3 separate regions of the Homo sapiens genome follow, and regions 2 and 3 are each linked to region 1. The links are contacts of gene promoters, found by promoter capture Hi-C in blood cells and fetal thymus (Javierre and others, 2016). All regions are on one chromosome and are shown on one strand. Each heading gives the region's core, a stretch centred on a gene start or on the middle of the fragment in contact. The rest is flanking DNA. Distances are from core to core; before and after follow the strand shown. Region 1 holds the start of SS18 (SS18 subunit of BAF chromatin remodeling complex). Region 2 has its middle 5.4 kb from the start of IMPACT. Region 3 overlaps OSBPL1A (oxysterol binding protein like 1A).

The links. The method cuts DNA at HindIII sites, captures the fragments that hold promoters and counts their contacts. A CHiCAGO score of 5 or more calls a contact.
Region 2: a fragment that was not itself captured here is called in contact with the fragment with the promoter of SS18 in region 1 in 2 of 17 cell types (non-activated CD4 T cells and naive CD8 T cells); the score reaches 7.5 in non-activated CD4 T cells.
Region 3: a fragment that was not itself captured here is called in contact with the fragment with the promoter of SS18 in region 1 in 2 of 17 cell types (non-activated CD4 T cells and total B cells); the score reaches 5.8 in non-activated CD4 T cells.

The regions. Positions count from the first base shown.
Region 1 is chr18:26,089,217-26,092,617 of GRCh38, forward strand. SS18 (SS18 subunit of BAF chromatin remodeling complex) reads right to left here and starts at 1,397. Exons shown (of 11, transcript NM_001007559.3): 1 at 1,285-1,397. The coding sequence starts at 1,353. RefSeq lists an enhancer at 1,732-1,851. The HindIII fragment of the contact is 4,894 bases long and covers 1-3,401 here.
Region 2 is chr18:24,419,689-24,422,800 of GRCh38, forward strand. No RefSeq gene overlaps it. Among named protein-coding and RNA genes, the nearest start is that of IMPACT, 5.4 kb to the right of the region's middle. The HindIII fragment of the contact is 1,777 bases long and covers 484-2,260 here.
Region 3 is chr18:24,392,177-24,395,442 of GRCh38, forward strand. The region is part of intron 1 of OSBPL1A (oxysterol binding protein like 1A); the gene reads right to left. All of the region lies in intron 2 of LOC124904268 (a long non-coding RNA gene), which reads left to right. Among named protein-coding and RNA genes, the nearest start is that of OSBPL1A, 4.0 kb to the right of the region's middle. The HindIII fragment of the contact is 477 bases long and covers 1,703-2,179 here.

The DNA of each region.
Region 1 (3,401 bases), core at 147-2,646:
TAAAAAAAAAAGAAAAACTCTGGACTTTTCCTGTGTACAAAAATAAAAAAGGTGAGCCCTCCAGAAACGCAGTTTTGCGTGAGTGCGTACTTGGAGCTGTTTGCCAGGCTGCAGACTTAACTCAGAGCACTATATGAAAGCACTGCATTTCCAGGCACTGCCAAGCCCGTTTGTTCATAAAATAAAGCAACAGTTGGGCAAATGTCAAAAGCCACACTACGAAGAACCTGACAGTAAACAGAAACCGATTAGCATAATCTACGTGGTCTGAGTGGTACTAAAACTTGACCTTTTTTTCTATTTTGATCTTTGCTACACAGCATAAAACAAAACAAAAATATTTAAAGTAAACTGCTAAATACAGCAGCAACTTCTGAAAGTCTAGGTCAGTAAAATTTAGAATGCTGCCTTGCTTGCAGGCAACAAGGGGTAGAGGACAATAAAGAACCTTTGTGTTCCGACTGGCAGTAACACAGCAGCGACTGCAGCAGCTCTATCCTTTAAAAAGGAGGCAGCTCCCTGTGTATTTATCACGACTTACATTAACTGGTCACGACAGTCTCCACCATTAGACTGTAAGCTCCAGGAAGGCAAGGACCATGACTCACCACAGTAGCCTCAGCGCCTAAAATAGGCGCTCAATAAATATTTGCTGCAGAATAAATGAATAGGCGGCGATGCAGAAGGGAAGAAGAGGCTCTGGGGACAACCCCAGAGTCCATGGGGACCTTCCTTGCCCGCTCCTCAAACTCTATACTAAGGTTCCCTCCAGCGTTCCCCAAGTCCTCCTGCGAGCTCCCAAACTCGGCTGAGTTTGCAGGGCGGCGACCAGCGCACCGACTTCCCCTCTGCCTGCCGCGACCCGCGGTGGGGTCCGCACGAAGCAGCCGCGGCACGCGGGGCGGGGCGACGCCAAAGTAACTCCGGAGCAACGCGCGGGGCCGCCGGTCCGACACACGCCCTTCCCTGAGCGGCCGCCGCCGGGCGCACGCGCCCCGCAGCCCGAACGCCGCCCCATCCCTAGAGAAATCAGGCGGCGGCTGTTTGGGCTTTTGTGTCTGTAGAAAAACGCGTAAATGCGTGAAAGACTCCGAGAAAAACCGGTTCACCCTCTTCCGCCACCCACTCAGGCACAGCCAGCAGTCCGTGTTCCCAAACACTGCTGATTCCCAGCAGGCCCGCCTCCGCCTCGGCCCGGTCGACTCCGGGCCCGGCCCTTCCCCCCGCGTCTGTCTCTCCCAGAGGCGGTAAGGGCCTGGCATCCGCAACCCCGCGCGGTTTCACCTTCTGAATCGCAGCGGGAGTGATCTCCCCCTTGCCTCGCTGCCTCGGGGCCGCGAAAGCCACAGACATGTTGCCGCCGTCACCACTATCGGCAAGTCCCGAGCGCTCCGGGTGAACGGCAAACTGGGGGAGAGACGCCGGCCTCTCGGGCTGAACCACCTCGGGAATGCGGGGAGGGGGGATGCTCCGGGGCCAAGCGGACGGGCGGCGGGGCAGGCCTGAAGGAGGCACTCTGGCCAGGGATGTCTCGCTTCTGCGCACTCTGGGGGACCCCTAGCCCTGGCCGAACTTTCTTGACCGTCCCTGCATCCCCCGAGCTCTCCTTATGGGCACCCCCTGGCCCTTTGCGCTAATGGTAGAGTCGCGCCCTAGTCCTCCCTCCGCTTCAGCGATTCAGGAAATGGTCCCGCCGCCGCGGGAGAAGGAGAGGCTGGGGCAGCCCCTGTCACAGGAAATGCGAGCGGCCCAAGCCGGCCCGCCCCCTTCGCGCCGTGGCAACTTGCCTCCCTCTCCGGCCCTCTGAAGCGTCTCCCCGACTGTGTTGCAGAGCGTGCCCTAGACCTAGTTCAGTTTTTCCAACTTCATCCTTACTTACGCCTCCTGGCAAGAGTGGCCGCCCCGAGTTGTCCCGGCAGCCCGGAGAGGGGAGGGAGGTCAAGACTCGGGAGTTCGTGCAAATCCGTGGAGCATCTGCCGAGATAGGGCAGAGGTGGAAGGACAAGGTGAACGCGGATTCGCTGGTTTAAATGGCTCGGCTACGCCCCAAATGCGCACCTCCGAGTCCACAGTCTCGCACGCACGCACAAAGTCGTGCCTAACAATTGGAAAGTAACCCTGACCCGAAACCGGGACACCAAGGTTGTGTCCAGTGCTCAGGGGCAATCGGCCAGCTTGGCTGGAGCGGACAGAGAAGAGCTCGCCTCTTGGGACAAACCCTTAGCAGGAAAGTGGGTCGATTTCGTCTGACTTGGCTTTTTGGAATTAAGTTGTGAAACAGGGCATCCTCACTCTCTGTTTTTTAAGAGAGTACTTACTTAGTGCCTTGTAAATTAGGCCCAAGCTGCCAGGCTTCAAGTCAGTGTAAGGGAAAAAGGCAAAGTTTTCAAATTATGGAAGGAACACGGACAAATGTGGGTTTTGTGTTGCCGTGGGGTTTTAAAGTATTCTGTAAATTTAGACTTCCATATAACACAAAGGGAAAGTTTATATAAAGTGTTACCCAACGTTAATGAATAATAAAAAATATTTCCATTTTTATATAAATTGGAAAAATAAAGAAAAAATACATTATTTTAAAAATTTAATCACTTGAGGCCAGGAGTTTGAGACCAGCCTGGGCAACAAAGTGAGACCTCTGTCTCTACAAGAATTTTAAAAATTGGCTGGGTATGGTGGTGTGCACCTGTAGTTCCAGCTACTAAGGAGGCTGAGGTGGAAGAATCACTTGAGCCAAGGGGGTGGAGACTGCAGTAAGCCATGACTGCCCCACCACACTCCACCCTGGGTGACACAGCAAGACCCTGTCTCAAAAAAAAAAAAAGAAAAATTAAGTATCAAATAAATGCTCTTCACAAAAATGTCAAGAATGTCATTGATTAAATGCATTGTTTGTTAGGCTTTATACTGGAAACCTAGGGTACGATTGTGAATAAGCTGGACATGGAACCTCCTCTCAAGGAGCTTATACACTAATGGGACTAACAGACCAGAAACAAACAAATATGTATATATGCAAAGTCCCAAGAAAAACTAGCCAAAAAAAAGGGGGAGGAACTAACAGAATGACAGGAACACTTACATGAGTTAGTGTGAAAAGTCTTCCCGATTATATTTAAACTGGGACCTAAAGGATGAAGACTCAAGCTGTCATAAGAATAAAGGGAAGAAAGTTTATGCTGCTACTGACAGTAATTACTCTTAAAAATTTAATTGTTATCTTTCACTATTGTAAGCCTTGAAGAAAACACTCTGGTATAGCTGGACTTAAGGTAATCACACCAAATTGGAAAACTGTCAAATTTGGAAACCAATACTTGTCTACCACTATCACTGTGCACTCAACACCTAGCATGCAGAGTCATGTCTCAATGCTTTACACAAAAGTACCTTAGTACTTA
Region 2 (3,112 bases), core at 122-2,621, 1.7 Mb before region 1:
AAATAAAGGCCGGGAGCAGTGGCTTACACTTGCAATCCTAGGACTTTGGGAGGCCGAGGCGGGCGGATCACCTGAGATCAGGAGTTTGAGACCAGCCTGGCTATCACGGTGAAACACTATCTCTATTAAACATACAAAAATTAGCCAGGCGTGGTGGTGAGCACCTGTAATCCCAGCTACTTGAGAGGCTGAGGCCCAAGAATCACTTGAGCTCAGGAGGCAGAGGTTGCAGTGAGCCAAGATCAGGTCACTGCACTCCAGCCTGTGTGAGAGTGAGACTGACACACACACACACAAACACACACACACGACGGCCATTTGAAGATTTAAGGGAAGAACATTCCACTCAGAGGCAAAAGGGAAAAGCAAATAACTTGTATTTCTTAACCAACAATTTTGACTTCACACACATCTCCTCTGAATATTGATTTTGAGGTTATGGGGAAGCTAATCATACGGCCATTTTCTACTTTTAGTCAAAAAAGCTTCTGGAGGGAAAAAATTTGAGATGTCACGTAAAGAGGTAAGGAAGTCAAGTGTGGCAGTTAAGGGTGCATGGTGCTGAGGAAGGCTTATCTCTGGCTTTACCCACTCCCACTCCCACCCAAGAACCTGTTCTCCGTTGGCTATAACCCAATCCTTGCTAAAGTTTCAATGAATAATTAACAAAAGAACTTGTAACTATCCCTTCTAGAAGTTTATTCATTAAGAAGATGCTTCTTGAAAATGAAAAAATAAAAAGATCAGATTTAATTCTTTTTTTGAGACAGAGTCTCACTCTGTTGCCCAGGCTGGAGTACAATGGAGCAATCTTGGCTCACTGCAACCTCCTCCTCCTGGGCTCAATTGATCCTTCCGCCTCAGCCCCCCAAGTAGCTGGGACTAGAGGCATGAGCCACCACGCCCAGCTAATTTTTGTGTTTTTTGTAGAGATGAAGTTTCACCATGTTGCCCAGGCTGGTCTCAAACTCCTGAGCTCAAGTGATCCACCTGCATTGGCCTCCCAAAGTGCTAGGATTACAGGCGGATGAATTACTGTGGAACACTTGTTTGAACATGCTGTTACTGGGGAAACAAACCTGCCGTAGCGGTCAATGAAGTACTTGCAAAACTGCTTGGGGGATAGGAGTACCTGTTTCTGAAAAGGGGGTGCTGACTGGAGGTGGTGTAACAGGGTCCCTACCACACAGCACAGTTCCTCTCTAGGTGAACTCTAACATAACACCTGAGATGCCACTCTTCCATTCCCTTCAAATCTCCTGAAGTCAGGAAATGCCTCTGGCTCCATTATTTTATTTATTTATTTATTTGAGACAGAGTCTCGCTCTGTCACCCAGACAGGAGTGCAGTGGTGGGATCTCAGCTCACTGCAACCTCCGCCTCCCGGATTCTCCTGCCTCAGCCTCCAGAGTATTTGGGATTACAGACACACGCCACCATGCCTGGCTAATTTTTGTATTTTTAGTAGAGATGGGGTTTCACCATGTTGGCCAGGCTGGTCTTGAACTCCCGACCTCAAGTGATCCGCCCGCCTCGGCCTCCCAAAGTGCTGGGATTACAGGCATGAGCCACCATGCCAGGCCAGGCTCTATTATTTTTTTCTAACTATGTTTATACAATTATCAGCTAATCTTCCCAGGATACAGTGTTACTTATGGTGAAATTATAATATTAAAGGATTTTCTCTCTCCCCTAATTGCTTGCTTGACATTGACTCTGTTTCCTTGATTACTTCTTTGACAAGAACTTCTCCATAAAACTTATAGTTTAATATCCAGTATTTTAATCTTCAGCCATAGTGGGTCAAATTATTGAGTAAGCAAATGAACAGCACAAAGAGAAGGAAGAGCCTCAGCATTCATTGTCCTTGTAGTCAGCTATATTTTGGCTTTCATTGTCTGGGAGCTAAGGTAAACACACAGAGAACAGGAGGGAAAAGATCATTGTGTACTAAGATGGTTTGTGTTTTGTTTCTAAAATATTTTGAGGACATATTTCCCTAAGAAAAATATTTCAGAACCAGATAATATTGTAAGTTAATATTGTTAAAAGATAAACACATTAAAATTGTCACGAGTTTGAGAATGAAGCTATTCATGAATCACGCAGCACCAGAGCTCAAACAGTTCAACACTCCACTAAATTGGTGGGAGGGAGAAATTTTTCTAAGGTGTTTGCAGAAGCAAGATAAAGAAAATATTTGATGGCTTAAACTAGAAAGTCCCTAGTTAGATGTCACTTAGTGGTTTCTGATTGGTTAAGCTTAAGTTTACACTGAGTTCTATTTCTGTTTGCTTACTCAGAAACACAAGGCAATGGAACTGTCTTAGCCTCATGGCCTCCCAATTAATTATTTTAACAAAACCATATGGACAGAATTTGCCTGTGTTACAGTGTATCCTAGAGCAGTTTGTTCTAGTCTTCTTGGAGAGGAAGATACCAAAATGAAGTTAAATATGCAAGAAATGTGTTAGGGGAAATGCCTGTAGAAAATTGGGAAGGAACTTGAAGAGGCTCAGAGAACCATCACACCGATACTAATCTGATCCTGAGTGAATGTTGAGAAACAAGTAGAGGAAAGGGCCTTCGCTGTGGCTCACGCCTGTAATCCCAGTACTTTGGGAGGCTGAGGCAGGAGGATCGCTTGAGCCCAGGAGTTTGAGACCAGCCTGGGCAACATAGTGAGACCTCCACTCTAAAACAAATCAAAAAATTAGCCTGGTGTGGTAGCGTGTGCCTGTAGTCCCAGCTACTTGGGGGTGCTGAGGTGGGAGAATTAATTAAGCCCTGGAAATTGAGGCCACAGCGAGCTATGATTCCCACCACTGCACTCCAGCCCAGGCGACAGAGATCCTGTCTCTAAGAAATAAAAAATAAAAAGAAGAAGAAGTAGAGGAAGGTTGTGCGGCAGTTTTTCTAAGGAAAGTTCAGCAAGGCGTGGAGCCCAAGCACCCCATCAGAGGAGTCCTGTCTCCCAAAAGTAGGCCCACCTGAGTAACTGCCATACTCTTGCCTGAGAGCTGCCCATGAAGAACGTGGTTTCAGTGCAAGCATAGTAATAGATATCTGAGCCCAGTAGCTGGAGCCCTCAGTCAATTACTCTTCCTGCTGT
Region 3 (3,266 bases), core at 691-3,190, 1.7 Mb before region 1:
TTTGAGATGGAGTTTCACTTGTTTCCCATGCTGGAGTGCAATGGCGCCATCTCGGTTCACCGCAACCTCCGCCTCCCGGGTTCAAGTGATTCTCCTGCCTCAGCCTCCCGAGTAGCAGGGATTACAAGCATGTGCCACCATGCCTGGCTATTTTATATTTTTAGTAGAGATGGGGTTTCTCCATGTTGGTCAGGCTGGTCTCAAACTCCTGACTTCAGGTGATCTGCCCACCTCGGCCTCCCATAGTGCTGAGATTACAGGCGTGAGCCACCACACCCGGCCCTATACTCTAATAAAGACAAAGGGAGACTATTCAAAAATTATTAAAAATATATGTTGCGATTAGTTTTTAAATTCTCAGATACTGATTTTATGAATGTTACATTAATATTTAAAATACATTGTATGCTAGAAATTTGAATGAGAAAAATTAAATGTCTATGAACAAACACATCCTATAAACTAAATCTTAAAAACATAAAAACCAGTACCGTGCTTAGCCCTGCGCTCCAAAGTAGTTAGCTGCTTTTTTGAAACAGGGTCTCAGTCAATTGCCCAGGATGGAGTGCAGTGGCACAATCGTGGCTCACTGCAGCCTCAAACTCCTGGACTCAAGCAATCCTCCCATCTTGGCCTCCTGAGTAGCTGGGACCACAGGTGCACGCCACCATACCCAGCTAATTTTTGTATCTTTTATAGAGATGTGGTCTGGCTACATTGCCCAGGCTGGTCTCGAACTCCTGGCCTTAAGGAATTATCCTGCCTTGCCTTCCAACGTGCTGGAATTACAGGCATGAGCCACCTCGCCCAGCCTGTAGTTAGCTGCTTAATGGTGTGTTTTCTCCTGACGTTATATTCTTTTAATACCAGCAAGGTATTAAAGATTAAAGTAACTACATAAAAACATGGCAATGGCAAAAAAAAAATACTTATTTGCTCTAACTATGATTAGTTGCTAGCAATCAGTAATTTCTCTGATGCAATCATATACCTACATGTATGTACATGTGTATACATTATGCACACATGTGCATAGATACACATATTATGTATACAGAAAACTGACATTTGTGATGACATAAACAAATGCATTTTTTGCTTGTTTTAGAAACTGAACATTGGTAAACGAATTCATTAATCTAACACTCTGATTCTAGAGCTGAAGCAACTGAAAAGCCCAAAGGCAAAGTTACTTGCCAAGTATTAACAGTAGAGTCACAGCCAGAATGTAGAAGGGGTGAAATAATGCAACGTATTTTATTTTTATTTATTTATTTTTATTTTTATTTTTTTTGAGACGGAGTCTCGCTCTGTCGCCTAGGCTGGAGTGCAGTGGCACGATCTCCGCTCACTGCAAGCTCCTCTTCCCGGGTTCACACCATTCTCCTGCCTCAGCCTCCCAAGTAGCTGGGACTACAGCTGCCCGCCACCACGCCTGGCTAATTTTTTGTAGTTTTTAGTAGAGCCGGGGTTTCACTGTGTTAGCCAGGATGGTCTCCATCTCCTGACCTCGTGATCCGCCCATCTCGGCCTCCCAAAGTGCTGGGATTACAGGTGTGAGCCACTGCACCTGGCATTGCTATGTATTTTATAAAATTCAATTCAGCTGCAAAAGTTAAATGCCATTGATTCTCATTAGTGTTCCTGTGTAAGCACTGAGGAATTTGAATCTGAATTATGTTTTGAGTGCCTCATTTTAAAAAGCTTTATTTATTAACTGAAAAGAATACCTAAAACATGGCAATTTAAGGAAAACAGGAGCAAATTATAAAGCCTATTTTGGGAAGCACTAACCTGTATCGTTTTAAGTTATAAGACAAAATTTTAATCACTTAATTTTTAATTCAGTGAAACTTTTTCTCTAACTTCCTCAATAAGTTTTTGTGCCCTAATAAAAAGCATTCATCTCCCACAGGAGAAATGATGGAGAATTGGCCACAATTATGTGTCATCTAATGGTTTATAAAGCATTGAAATCATAAAATGTTTATACCAAATTATTATTTACTTTATATTTGATAAATTTACATTACCTTCTCTTATTCATATCCATTCCATACCCACACCAACTTGGATACCATACGGACATAATAAAAAACCAACCATATCACCAGGTATTTATCTTACCCATATTCGGTTGGAAATTTTAATGTTTCTTAAAATTAGTAAAAATTAAATAAGCTTCATAGCTTTGCTTAATGAAGTTGTTTAAAATAACTTTGGTGCTATAATTTTAGCTGCTTTAACAATTAAGCACTAATTCCTAGATGCACCCCTGATTTGAACTTCAATTTGACAGATTCTGAAAACTATTTACTACTGTTTCAAAACAGAGCAGGTATGAAGAGCAGAGAACCCTACAAATTTAACAAATCAAGTTTAGTAATAAAAATCCTAGCAAGGAGGCTGATTGTTACCTTTTAATGACAAAATTCCCTAAATTTTAGAAAAATGCATTAAAATTTTCCCATTTCAATTATTTCACATTTGAAAATTATCTTTCAAACTCAATTAAACTCATGTATAATAATACTGACCATTTATGCATCACAGAAATACCTCTTTAAAGAAAAACTTTAAACACAAAGTAAAAACATGTGGTTACTTTCCATTGTCACATGATACGAAATTGTACAGTTAAAGACTGCTTTCACTATACAGTAATTTCCTACTTGCAGGCTGATAAATAAAAGTAAAGTGAGCGACCTAGTTTATCTTCCTAGTAATAGCATTAAAACTATTTCTTATACTAGCCCACCTCACACAGCCCCCTTAATACTGACAGTACCAACACAGAATTAGTGGCAGAGGCCACGTGAGGAAAAACATTTCTAGAGACCAAGAACATCACATAAGATACTTATATGACACCACAATCATAAATATACATACACTATACAGATTACCTGACAGTGTCTTTTCTTAAACTTCATGAATTGTTAGTATAAGCTGGTGACTGCAGTGCTAAAACCTGTCCTCTTTCTAGGAAATTCAGAGAACTTGCTAGGTCATCAAAAAAGCTCTGATTGCCAAAGTTCAGACTCAGCTTGGAAGAACTGACAAGGTTCTGAAGGATATCAAGTTTCTCACACGCACTTGATATCATATTCTCTCTTCTCCACTAAGTTATTCATTTGGCTGATTTCTACTTTCTGCCTACTACTTTTCTCAATGAAAACATATGATGTATAAAAGCTCAGCTTCCAGTAATGTCAAGAGGTAAGAAACTGACACAGTTCCACTTAAAAATATTATGATCAGATATA